Linked DNA regions of Homo sapiens: all the other regions are linked to region 1. Evidence: promoter capture Hi-C in human tissues and cell types (Jung and others, 2019). All regions are on one chromosome and are shown on one strand. Each heading gives the region's core, a stretch centred on a gene start or on the middle of the fragment in contact. The rest is flanking DNA. Distances are from core to core; before and after follow the strand shown. Region 1 holds the start of GRIN2A (glutamate ionotropic receptor NMDA type subunit 2A). Region 2 has its middle 220 kb from the start of LINC01195. Region 3 overlaps GRIN2A (glutamate ionotropic receptor NMDA type subunit 2A). Region 4 overlaps GRIN2A (glutamate ionotropic receptor NMDA type subunit 2A).

Region 1 (3,117 bases), core at 216-2,715:
GGCTGACCCCGCCCCCTACGAGCCCGTCGTGTGCACCACACACTTTGCTCTACGCCCAGCCCCAACTACAGACCCGGCTCCTCTCAGTCAGAGTACACCCCAAGTGCTTGGGAGTGAGGACGCTGCCTGGTGGGCCCAGGCTCCGCTGTGCCTGGGGAACTTGGGGCTCGCCCCACCTCGAGCCAAGGGGCCGTGGAGAGTCCTTCACCCCTACACGCGCGCGTGCACACACACGTGCACACACACACGCACACACACATGTTCACACACACACACCCTCTCTCACGCGCGCCGTGTGCAATGCTGAATTCTGGAGAGTAGGCGCGTCCCCCCGCGGGCCAGCGCGTAGGAGCTGGCAAAGAACGTGCGTAGGGGGAAAGGTAGGCTCCCAAGAAGCTCCCAGACGGACGTGGACTGTACAGCCCCTCCCTAGCCTTTCTACTGCGGGCGCTGTTGCCAAGTCCTAGGTGCACGTGGGCAGTGGGCCGCACACGCTCATAGGCACGCGCGCTTTTCTGCGCACTTCCTCAGACTGCTGTAGCGGTGCCCACGGCCAGCCGGAGTCCTCACATGTCCTCAGGTGGTGCACACGCATGAACTGCGGCAGGTGCACAGCCCTGCGTACCTGCAAATACCAGCACGGTCGTGCACGCGTGCCCTGACGCGCGCCTCTCGGGACGGACGCTGCTGGAGCCGGGGGAAGTTGAGGCGAACTCCAAGAGGCCTCGACGTTCCTGGGTAAGCGCCGCGGAGCGCGGAGCCGCAGCGCCCCCTGGTGCCCCTCCTGCACTTCGCCGCTGGGCTCCCTCCCGCTTTCCCTCTCCCTCTCTAGCCTGATCCCTCTCCCGCTCTCCCTCCGGTCGAGTCTCCCTCCTCCCCGGCCCAAGGAGCCCTGATCTCCCTCTGGGACGTACCTGTAGCCCGAGAAGGTCGAGGATGCAGTGGGGCGCGCTGCGCGCACGAGCATCTCGGCCGCCTCAGCAGCCACCGGGTTTAGCGGGTTCCCGCATGCTGCGGCCCCAGCGCGCTCCCCTGGCTGTCCCGCGCTGTCCGCATCGCCCCCACGGGGGGCGGCTATCCCAGCCGGAGGCTCTGCAGCAGGGCTCTAACGGGGCGGAGGAGAGAAGGAGAGGCAGGGTCAGCCCACCAACGAGGGGAGGGAGGGTTGAGGGGAAGGCTGCAGTCTGCAGTGCTCACAAGCCCCCCTATGCGCCCAGGGGGGCTAGACAAGAGGGGGGAAGCTGAAGCCCGATGCCCACGACGCCCCCAGTGCGGATCCTCAGCCCCTGTGGCTGATAGCGGGAGCTCCACTCCAGGGTGCACAGGAGAATGGGAGCCCCAGGTTGGCCACCCACGAGAAGCTAACTGGGCACCTCCACCCGCACCCCCTACCACCTCCCCAGCGCCGGCTGCTGGGAGTTGTGCGACCGGGAGCTGCTGAGCGAGGGAGGTAGGGAGAGAAAGAGGAGGTAACGAGGGTGGGGGGGCGCTGGCTGAGTTTGTGACGAGCCAGCAGTAGGAGAGGGGGAGGGAAGGACGCGGGCTCCCGCGGTCCCGGTTCCCCGAGGGAGGTGGATCTTTCCCACGCAGCGACCCTCTTGTGATCCTGCCGCTTCCTCCCTCTTCAGGCCTCCCACCTCCCCCCTTCCCAAGGGGGCCTCCCAGGCCCGGCGTCCCGCGCTAGCACTCACCGCAGCCTCTCTCCACATAGTTCTCAGCAGTGGCCGCTCCTGGTCATCTCCAGGGCTGATGGCTGCGGCCGCGATTCTCAGCGCTCACCCGGTCCCATGATCCGGCCAAGCCCTAGGAGCTCCCCTCCAAGATCCCTAGCTCCGCTTCCTGCCCCACTCCGGACGGCAACTGCCCGGTCCTCTGAGCGCGCCGGAGCACCCTCTCCGCAACCCAGCTCCGGGCTGGTGTGTTTGAGGGCGAGTGTGTGTGTGAGTGTGGGAGCGCGCTCGCGTGTGGCCGGGGATCCCCGCGGTCCCCGGCCGAGAGAGGCGCGGGCGGGGAAAGGCAGCTCCCTCCGGGCCCTTCGCTGCTGGGCCAGCTCCGCGCCGGGCGTTCGGCTCCCCACTTCCCAGCGGGAGTCCGGTGAGCGCCTGGACACCCTGGTTCACAGCACTGGCAAAGCCGGGTTCCCGGGGCGTCTTTCTGCTGCGGTCGCCTCCGAGGAAGAGGAGAAGGAAGGTAGCGGCGCCCTCCACACCAACTTAGGGACTTGTTCTCAGCCGGCGAGACGCAGTAGCCCCCGCTCAAGCCCAAGAGGCTTCGAGCTCCGGCGGGCGAAAGCGTCTCCTGCCCGCAGCCTCTCTCCTAGGTGGGTCGAGACAGACCCCGCAGTCCCTCGGCGGCGACGCGGAGCGCGGCCACCCGTTCCGAGAGCGCACGGCGGCAAATAAGGCCAGGATAGGTGGCTGGCTGGCGACGGGGGCGCCTGCGGCGGCGCGCGCTGCTGTCCGTGGTGTTGGAACCACGCTCTCCGCCCGCTCCCGGGCGTCTGGTGCGGCTGAAGAATCAATTATTCAGATCTCTGCTACCGCTTCCTCCTCCCCCAGTGCCTCGCGCTGGGTACAGTTATCCCCCTCCACGCACAGGCGCGCCGACACACACACACACACACACACACACACACACACACACACAGAGTCTGCTCCAATGCTTCTCCCTGTGCCTCGCCACCCCCGTACGGGAACCCACTCCTCTGATCTCAGGGAGCCAGAATCCTAAAAGCAAAGACATCTGCATTTCCCACATGCTTCCTTCTAAGTTCTACCAAACAGAAGCCTCCCTGAGGCTGCCACTTCTAAGCTACCAGAAGAGGTGAGCCAGAGAACATGGGACGGCCCGGGTGTGTGAGGGCTTGGTTGACTTGAATTCTAGCGACTGGGCATGAAATACATGGTCAAGGGAGGAGCTCTGCCCCTTTTATATTCACCTGTATCTCCAACGCCTGTCTGCCTTTCAGGCCTTGGAAGGAAAGGGGTCTTAAATTCTAAGAGGTTTTGCAATGACTGTTCCAACCCTGCCTCCTCCACTTAACCTAATGTCACCTGCTGCGGTCTAAATGTGTGTGTTCCCACCCCCAAATTCATAGGATAAAATCCTAACTCCCAA
Region 2 (3,117 bases), core at 212-2,711, 510 kb before region 1:
CCTAAGGAGATTCAGCATAGTCCTGCCAGCAAAGATTATTTATTTACTTCAAGAATTTAGAGTGGCAGTTTGGGGATAGCACCAGGAGATATCAGCTGTGATGGCTTGGAGAAACAGTGTAAACAAGAGCAGGGCATGTATGAGTAGTTGAGAACGGTGAATAGTACTATGACTAGACAGAAGATGGTAGGGATGACAAGTTTTTTGGGGCACAGTCTAAGTTGGTCTGGCGTCTGGAATGAGACTGGGGCCTAATAAAAGGGAGCGTCTATACAGGAGCTTAAATGGGCTGTACCTTGTAGCATTCTGAGGACAGGCCTGAATTCTGAGAAGCGAAAGTGGTAAAAGTATTGTCCAGTCCTTTTTAAGTTGGTGGCTGAGCTTGGTGAGTTGTGTTTTTAAAAGACCATTAGTGTGTTCTACCTTTCCTGAAGACTGAGGACTGTAAGGGATATAAAGGTTTCACTGAATACTAAGAGCCTGAAAAGCTGCTTGGCTGATTTGACTAATAAAGGCTGGTCCGTTATCAGACTGTATAGAGGTGGGAAGGCTAAACTGAGGAATTATGTCTGACAGAAGGGAAGAAATGACTGCGGTGGCCTTCTCAGACCCTGTAGGAAAGGCCTCTATCCATCCAGTGAAAGTGTCTACCCAGACTAAGAGATATTTTAGTTTTCTGACTGGAGACATGTGAGTAAAGTCAATTTGCCAGTCCTGGGTAGGGACAAATCCCCGAGCTTGATGTGTAGGAAAGGGAGGAGGCCTAAACAATCCATGAGGGGTAGTAGAATAGCAGATGGAACACTGAGAAGTGATCTCCTTGAGGATAGATTTCCATGATGGAAAGGAAATGAGACGTTCTAAGAGACGGGCTAGCAGCTTGTAACCTACATGGAAGAAGTTATGAAATGACAACAGAATAGAATGGACCTGTGAGGCTGGCAGGAGATATATTCCTTGGTCTAAGAACTATTTGCCTTGTGTGGGAAGAGATTGATAGGTGGAAGTTTCAGCAGGGGAGTAGGTGGGAGTGACCAATGTGAAGGAGAAAAACTGGCCGTGAGGGACAGAAGTTGGAGAGCTAGCTGCTTGTCTAGCCACCTTATCAGCATAAGCGTTGCCTAGAGCAATGGGATCTGATGCCTTTTGATGCCCCTTGCAGTGAATGACCCCAGCTTCCTTTGGAAGTAAAGCGGCCTTGAGTAGAGTTTTTATTAAAGAGGCATTAATGATGGAGGACCCTTGTGTAGTGAGAAAACCTCTTTCAGCCCATATGACCGCATGGTGGTGCAGAATATGAAAGGCATATTTAGAATCAGTATAGATATTGACGCGTAGTCCTTTGCAAGAGTGAGAGCTTGAGTTAAGGCAACTAGTTCGGCTTGCTGAGAGGTAGTGGAGGGGGGCAGAGTGGTAGCCTCAATGATAGATGTGGAAGATACTATAGCATAGCCTGCCTTTGCTGGTGAGTGGCGATTAGGCCTGGTGGAACTGCCATCAATAAACCAAGTGTGATCAGGGTGAGAAACAGGGAAGAAGGAAATGTGGGGAAATGGGGTGAACATCAGGTGGATCAGAGAGATGCAGTCATGAGGGTCAGGTGTGGTATCCGGAATAATGTGGGAGGCCGGATTGAAGTCCGGGCCAGGAACAATGGTAATTGTGGGAGACTCAACAAAGAGTGAATACAGCTGAAGGAGCCGGGAAGCAGAAAGCATATGCGTCAGGTATGAGTAAGAAAATAGATTTTGGAAGTTATGAGAACTGTAGAGAGTGAGTTGAGTATAGTTTGTGATTTTGAGGGCCTCTAAAAGTATTAAAGCAGCGGCAGCCACTGCACGCAGACATGAGGACTAGGCTAAAACAGTAAGGTCAAGTTGTTTGGACAGAAAGGCTACAGGGTGTGGTCCTGGCTCTTGTGTAAGAATTCTGACCACGCTAACCATGCCTAGGAAGGAAAGGAGTTGTTGTTTTGTAGAAGGTGCTGGGGTTTGAGAGATCAGTCGGACACGATTGGCAGGGAGAGCACGTGTGTTTTTATGAGAATTATGCCGAGATAGGTAACAGATGAGGAAGAAATTTGGGCTTGACTGAGGTAATGGGGGCTGTCTGTGAAGCTTTGCGGCAGTACAGCCCAGGTAATTTGCTGAGCTTGATGGGTGTCAGGGTCAGTCCAAGTGAAAGTGAAGAGAGGCTGGGATTAAGGGTGCAAAGGAATAGTAAAGAAAGCATGTTTGAGATCCAGAACAGAATAATGGGTTGTAGAGGCAGGTAGTGAGGATAGGAGAGTATACGGGTTTGGCACCACAGGGTGGATAGGCAAAACAATTTGACTGATAAGGCACAGATCCTGAACTAACCTGTAAGGCTTGTCTGGTTTTAGGACGGGTGAAATGGGGGAATTGTAAGGAGAGTTTATAGGTTTTAGAAGCCTATGCTGTAGCAGGCGAGTGATAACAGGCTTTAATCCTTTTAAAGCATGCTGTGGGATGGGATCTTGGCATTGCGCGGGGTAAGGGTGATTAGGTTTTAATGGGATGGTAAGGGGTGCATGATCGGTCACTAAGGAGGGAGTAGTAGTAGTCTTATACTTGTGAGTCTTATACTTGTCTTATACTTGTGAGTTAAGGTGGGGAGATATAAGGGGAGGATGTGAAGGAGGCTTTGAACTGGGGGAAAAGGTGGCAGTGAGGTGCAGCTGTAGCCTAGAATAGTCAGGGAAGCAGATAATTTAGTTAAAGTGTCTCAGCCTAATAAGGGAACTGGGCAGGTGGGGATAACTAAAAGGGAGTGCTTAAAAGAGTAATGTCTAAATTGGCACCAGAGTTGGGGAGTTTTAAGAGGTTTAGAAGCCTGGCCGTCAATACCCACAGCAGTTATGGAGGCAAGGGAAACAGGCCCTTGAAAAGAAGGTAATGTGGAGTGGGTAGCCTCCGTATTGATTAAGAAGGGGACGGACTTACCCTCCACTGTGAGAGTTATCCAGAGCATCTGTGATGGTTCTGTTGGCTTCTGAGGCGATTGGGCGGTGTCAGTCTTCTGCTGCTAAGCCGAGAAGATCTGGGAAGGAGTCAGTCAGAGAGCCTTGGGCCAGAGTCCCAGCGACTCTGGCAGTGG
Region 3 (3,117 bases), core at 418-2,917, 430 kb before region 1:
TCTTAAAAGGCTTTTTACTGCCAGCTTGAAAGATGAAAACAGCTGAGAAATTTTTCTCATAGACTAGCACTTAACTTGCATTAAGTTAGCTAACTCTCCAGAGAATTCATGGAGACTCCCAGAAAGACATTCCTTCAAATCCCCGCTAGTGTCCTCATCCATCAAATGGGCCTAATGCACCCCTCACCTCTCAGTAAATATAAATGCCAGGAAAGAAATGTGGCTTAGACCATGGAGAGGGGGGAATGCAGGAAAGGCAGTGTGTGCTCAGGGGCATGCCTGCAGGATATGTTAAACATTAGGCCATTCTGGGTACCTATAAAGCCCGGTGGAAGCGTTCCAGTTCAACACTCTTCAGTGGGACAGAATAACCGTCATTATCCTAATGCTAAGTGAGCCGGGAATTATCTCTAAGACAATTTGGAAAAGAAAAAAAAAAAGGAACAGACCAAGAAGGAAAACAACAACAACATTTTAATAGCTGGTCCTCAATCATTCTGACTACCAAAGCTCTCCATCATTCATGCAGAAACTCTATTTCCTATTCCCTGTCCCACCTCTGAAACTCATTCCATCTGCCTGGCAAAGATAACCAAACATAGACATGAAATAGGAGGAATAGTCAACTTGCAAATAATATCACCTCTTTGAACATGGGTCACAATATTTAGGAGGACTTTAATGGAGGGTCACATGGCTGTGTGTGTGTGTGTGCATACCCACACACATGAGAGCATGTACTATGTATATATGTTTAATGGAATTAGCCCTGATGTTGACTGATAAAAAGATGAGACATTAGGAAAGAGATATTTAAGATTAGGCACATGCTAAGTAGAGAAAATAACTCCCCAGAAATTTTTTTAAATGCTAAGTGCAAGCATATGAAAGGGAGACACAAACAGTGTTCAAGTCTCAGAAGGAACTATGAACAGAGGTGAGATCCCCAGAAGTTCTCCATACACACAGATCAGGCAATGAGGGGTAAGACCCTAACAGACTTCCCTGTCACAGAGGCTGATACTCAAGGGTATATGCCCAGGAACCTCAAAAGAGCACACCTCTCTTTCTGACTTCTATTCTGACCTCCCTGGAGGAGACCAGGCACTTTGAAAATATGTCTAACGTTAGGGATTTACTAGCTAATTCTAGTTGCTGACGAGGTTGAGAAAAACCTGAGCCTCAGTTTCCTTATCTGTAAAATGGGAGCAATCATATTTATATCTTAAGGTTGTTTTGAGGATCACATTCTAGGATATGCCTAGAATATCGCCTACACTCAATTTAGATATATTTTGATATTTTCAAATTCAGGTGCAGATCCATGGCAAGTACTTGCGATAAGCAGAAAATGTAACATTCCAAGAATGCACAGAATGGGATAGACAGAGTGACAAAAGCTCCCTCTCCACCTCGCCATCCTTCCTGAAATACACCTCTATTCCTTTTGCCATCTCTTTGCCCCGTTTTCTCTCTAGGGAACCTGATGCTTTCTGTCAGCCACAGCAGTAGGCACTTGGAACTTGATAAAGAATTTTCCCTCTATGCTTCCCTGATACATTCATACCCTGGTGTATCAGAAGGGTTCTTCAAATGTCAAAAACAAAACCAAACAAAAAAGCTTTAGGGAAATGCTTCGTCTTTTTACATCATGGTCTATTTTCTAATCCTTTGGGGAATTTTTTCAACCTTTTCTTGAGGCACATGTCATAATGCAAGGCTGGGAGGAGGCATGATTTGGCAAGGACTGGAGAACTGGTTGGAACCAGACAAAAGCCTTCCTGTGCAAAAATGTAGGAGTGTGAGTGTGTTCACCTGGTTAGCAGCTCCTGGGTCTCCTAAGTCCATTATTTGAAGATTAAAATAAATCAACTGCATTTCCGGGACCACTAACTCTATTCTCCGGAGTTACTTAAAGGTTTAGGGAAGGACTTTTTTTTTTTTTTTAAAAAAGGTATGCTCATAGAATCAGATTATTTTTTTTTTCCTGGCTACAACTTTAGTTGTCATTTCTAATTTTTGCTGTTTAGTCTCTGTTTGCATTGCATGGGTCCTTGGTTATCCTTTGTATTAGAGAACTGAACTTCTAAACCATAAGCTACTTATGGGAAGAGACTATATTTTCTATTTATTTTGCATCCCCTCCCCCACAATCCCAAACTGGCTTTCAAAATAAAGTGGACATTCAGTGAAGTCCTATTAGCTGGTCAATGTGCTTGGTTCTTCCTCAATGCATGATACATAGACCTCAATTATTTCAATGGTCACTGCCAGCCTTTTATCTTCAGTTTGAGGTTTTAAACAATATCCCTGTTGATTTTTCCTAAGGAGACGGTCTCTGAGAAAAGTTTTCTCTTCTAGGAACTTTAAGACAGGGATTGTGAGGGAGTTTAAAGGAAAACCAAATTCAAAGAAGCATGGGTAGGTCTTTCTGGGGCAAGTGGCAAAAACAAAAAACAAAACAAAACAAAAACCAGGGCAGCCTTATGGGGATCTCTGGCTCTTATTCCAGAGCTACTCAGGAGTTTCCCCTTGAAAGAAACCTAGAAATAAGTCAGCCCGGTCAGAGAATCGAGCCAGAAATTGAACCATGTCTTGGATCTAATCCTCGCTCTGATACTCTCTAACTTGATGATCTTAAACAGGCAACTGCCCATTTGTAAACTTCATTTTTCTCATCTCTCCTCCCCTTCTCCTAACTTTTGGTGTGGTTCTACGAACTCTATTTTTCTAAGACCCTTCTGGGCAGGCACTTCTAGCTAATACTATACTGAAAGTACTGCTGGGCACAGAAAGAGTGCAGGTGAGGAAAGAGGATAAGGAATTTAAATAGGAAATCTATGCCCTTTGATGTGTTTAAGGAAATCACACACAAGTCCATATCGGCATTGTCTTCAGAAGCAAATGCGAGCAGAATATATTCTATACCCCTCATCCCAGAGTTTTGTTTTTTAAAGAAGGGGCCAAGAACGCCAACACCCATATTCTACTTAGGCTCTGTCATCCTCCCTACAACTGAGATTAAAAAAATATAGTGCCCTCTCTACAGAAATATCCTCCCATAAAAATAACCAGAATGGGTTTTCCATGTGTTAATACCATCATCACCATTTAATT
Region 4 (3,117 bases), core at 375-2,874, 270 kb before region 1:
CAATGGTAAGAGATGGGACTCACAACTCACAGTTGCTCTGTCCAATGAATTGATGTAATTGATGTCATTGTTATTAATATTAGAAGTACACCATCAATGGAGGTAGTTTAGGTGGTGGTGACAAGCACTGACTCTGGAGTTAAATTATTTGGGTTTGTGAACTGTCTCTGCAACTTGCTACTTATATAAACTAGTTGTTATTTCACCTCTTTGAGCCTCCGTTTTTTCATCTGTTAAATGGAGATACTAATGGCACCTACATGACAGGTTTGTTGTGAGAATTAGATTGATTAATAAATAGAATTTAGCACAGTATGCCAGACACACTCTAGGCACTTGATAAATGCTAATTACTGTAGATGTGATAATACCTTTGGTTGTTGTTAATTAATCAACATCTGTACTTCCTTCCTGGGATTATTGAGAGTGCTGCAACAATTTCTCATCTGCCAATTATTTGCCAACTTTGTCTTCTGGAGTTGGAGGCATAAGAGTTAGGTCAATCTCTTTGTGTAATCTTGGTTATATGATGTCACCTCTGTGAACATTATCTGTAAAATTGGAATAATCCCATGCAACTCAAAGAATTGTTATGAGGATTCAAGATTTTGTATATGAGTCTAAAACACTATATAACATTATTGTAATAATTATTAATTATGTCTAATTAGGAGGGTAATAAAGCAAAATGATCCCATGACCCCACAGATCCTCCCAACAGTCAAAAGCTTCATGACATGAGTCCTTGGAAAAAAAGAAGAGAAAGTTGCATTAAACATCACCCAACTTCTCAAGAGAACCAGAAATTGTGAGTAGGAGCTTTTCATACACCCTGAATCTGCCGGCACGTATAAATCGAGGTCTTCTCATTCTTCCCTCATTTTCAATACCACTTATTGGGAAGGAAGGTACTGAAATGAAAACAATTTGGAACCAAAAGGCACAACTCTCAGAGCCACAGCGATACAGTGACAAGTGAAATGGGCTTTCTAATAGTATCCTGCTGCGGATTAACAGACACCTGGTATTCCACCTCGGAGGTGGCTGGTGATGCAGCCTTCTTCACTAGGAGTCAACGGTCCACTCCTAGCTCTTTTTCCACCATCCTCCCTTTTCCAACCTTTCAAGGCATGACCTCTTTTCCACCAGTTCCTCCCCGCCACCCACATCCCATATATTAACAGAAGCCCTTCAAATATCTCCTCCAGCTTTTACAAGGCAGAGATGGAGTTGGTCATTTAACATATGAAAGGAATTTTCTTCTGGGGAGTTAAGTAAGTGATGTGAGGAAGTGATGAGCATCCTTTTGGCAGCTACTGCTCCATGGTGTCTCTTGGCCTTCAAACACCCAACTTTCCCTTTTGCAGAGGTAGCGTTGCCTAGTGGTTCATAGCAGACACTCTGAAGTGAGAAAGACCCGAAACTGAGTCTACCATGAGAATAAGTGTTTTTATTACCTTATAAACACTAAAATATTTCCCATCTCAGGGACTTTGCGCACTCTGCTCCCTTTGGCTGGAATGACTTTTCTCCGGCTCTTTTCATATCTGATTCTTCACCCTTCAGCTTTCAGTAGAAACATCACTTCTGCAAAGAGGCAAGAGGTGTGTTCCTTCCATCCTTCACGTTTTCCATCTCAGTACCCCATATCTGCCCTTCACAGGAGCCATAATATAGTGCAATTATTTTATGTATTTGATTCCTTACTCATTTTTGTTTAAATTCCCTATGAGATTATAACCCCAGGGGTCATGCTCTGTTGTTTTCACTGGTGTATCCCCTGTGGGGTTTGGCACTGAACACTAGGTAAATTCTTCAGATGAATGGATGAATGCAATTGTGACTGCTGTCCACTAACAATGTGACCTTGAAAAAGGCACTTGACTTTCCTAAGCCTCAATGTTCTTACATCTCAAAGGAGGATAATATCGCCTACCTCACAGCTACTTGGAAAACTGGACATGGAATGCACCACTGTTCTACTGCATCGGTTCCAAAATGCACATCTTTTGCACTTTAACTTTTTTGAAATAAAGATCTTATAATAGCTAGACTCTTCAGTCAAATAAAATATGTTAACATCTCACTCTTATACAGGACCCAAGTTCTTCTAACTTTTTAAAAACTTCCTTTGGAAAGACATGGTTGTGTGGTTGGATGTGTGTATTTACTGTTTAAGGACCAAGTTTACACCAGTACTCGTGCGTTCTGCTCCACAATTTCAACACGTCCTCCCTCTCACTCCCCGCCTAGAGATTGCTCCTTCTGCACTCTCTTAATGAGACTGTCGTTGTACATTTTTAAAAATTTTATTCTCAAAAGCCCCAGGGAGTTGGAATAATGAAACATACTTAATTAAGCTATGCAAAGCAATCCTGCCATCTAGGTGGCATTTTTTGTTCTATTTTCCTTGGTTATTCCGAGAATTATATTATTATATAAGAGCCAGCATTCATAGATCACTTACTGTGGGCCAGGTACTGAGCTAAATGTTTTACATGCTTTATTTAATTCTCACAAACTCCCCCACTGTGAGTGGGGACCAGCATTATTTCTATTTTACTGATGACAAAAATGAAGCTCAGATATATTTAGTTGCTTGCTCAAAGTCTCACAGCTAATAAGTGGCAGAAAAAGCTGAAATTTGATTCCAAAGCCTGTGGATGTACTGCAGTATCTCCCTATCCACAGGGAATATGTTCCAAGATCCCCAGTGGATGCCTGAAACTGCAGATAGTACAGAACTGTGTATGTATCATGTTTCTTCTTACACAGACATACATACCTATGATAAAGTTCATGAATTAGGCACTGTAGGAGATTAACAACAATTATTAATAAAATAGAACAATTATAACAATATGCTAGAATAAATGATATATAAATGTGGTCTCTCTCTTAAAATACTGTATTGTATATAATATTTTCAGACTATGGGTAACTGGAATCACAGAAAGAAAAACCAAGGATAAGAGGGGACTACTGTATAGGTTCGAGTCATTCAAAAGCGACTAACATATACGAAGCACAAATTATGTCCATTGAGAAGTTTTCTGTCTGAAATTAAAGTCCAAAGTATCTTGTGCAAAAGTGTTTCTCAAATTCTTACTTAAAATG

Evidence for each region. The method cuts DNA at HindIII sites, captures the fragments that hold promoters and counts their contacts. A contact is called where the count stands out against the background at its distance.
Region 2: a contact is called between a fragment that was not itself captured here and the fragment with the promoter of GRIN2A in region 1, in 1 of the 25 tissues and cell types used here (lymphoblastoid cells).
Region 3: a fragment that was not itself captured here is called in contact with the fragment with the promoter of GRIN2A in region 1 in 1 of the 25 tissues and cell types used here (heart left ventricle).
Region 4: a fragment that was not itself captured here is called in contact with the fragment with the promoter of GRIN2A in region 1 in 1 of the 25 tissues and cell types used here (heart left ventricle).

Annotation. Positions count from the first base shown.
Region 1 is chr16:10,180,963-10,184,079 of GRCh38, forward strand. It overlaps GRIN2A (glutamate ionotropic receptor NMDA type subunit 2A), which reads right to left and starts at 1,466. Exons shown (of 13, transcript NM_001134407.3): 1 at 915-1,466. RefSeq lists silencers at 554-663, 674-733. The HindIII fragment of the contact is 17,773 bases long and covers 1-3,117 here.
Region 2 is chr16:9,671,338-9,674,454 of GRCh38, forward strand. No RefSeq gene overlaps it. Among named protein-coding and RNA genes, the nearest start is that of LINC01195, 220 kb to the left of the region's middle. RefSeq lists an enhancer at 2,611-3,117. The HindIII fragment of the contact is 4,732 bases long and covers 1-3,117 here.
Region 3 is chr16:9,755,427-9,758,543 of GRCh38, forward strand. It overlaps GRIN2A (glutamate ionotropic receptor NMDA type subunit 2A), which reads right to left. Exons shown (of 13, transcript NM_001134407.3): 13 at 1-3,117. Among named protein-coding and RNA genes, the nearest start is that of LINC01195, 300 kb to the left of the region's middle. The HindIII fragment of the contact is 8,168 bases long and covers 1-3,117 here.
Region 4 is chr16:9,915,578-9,918,694 of GRCh38, forward strand. The region is part of intron 3 of GRIN2A (glutamate ionotropic receptor NMDA type subunit 2A); the gene reads right to left. Among named protein-coding and RNA genes, the nearest start is that of GRIN2A, 270 kb to the right of the region's middle. The HindIII fragment of the contact is 9,405 bases long and covers 1-3,117 here.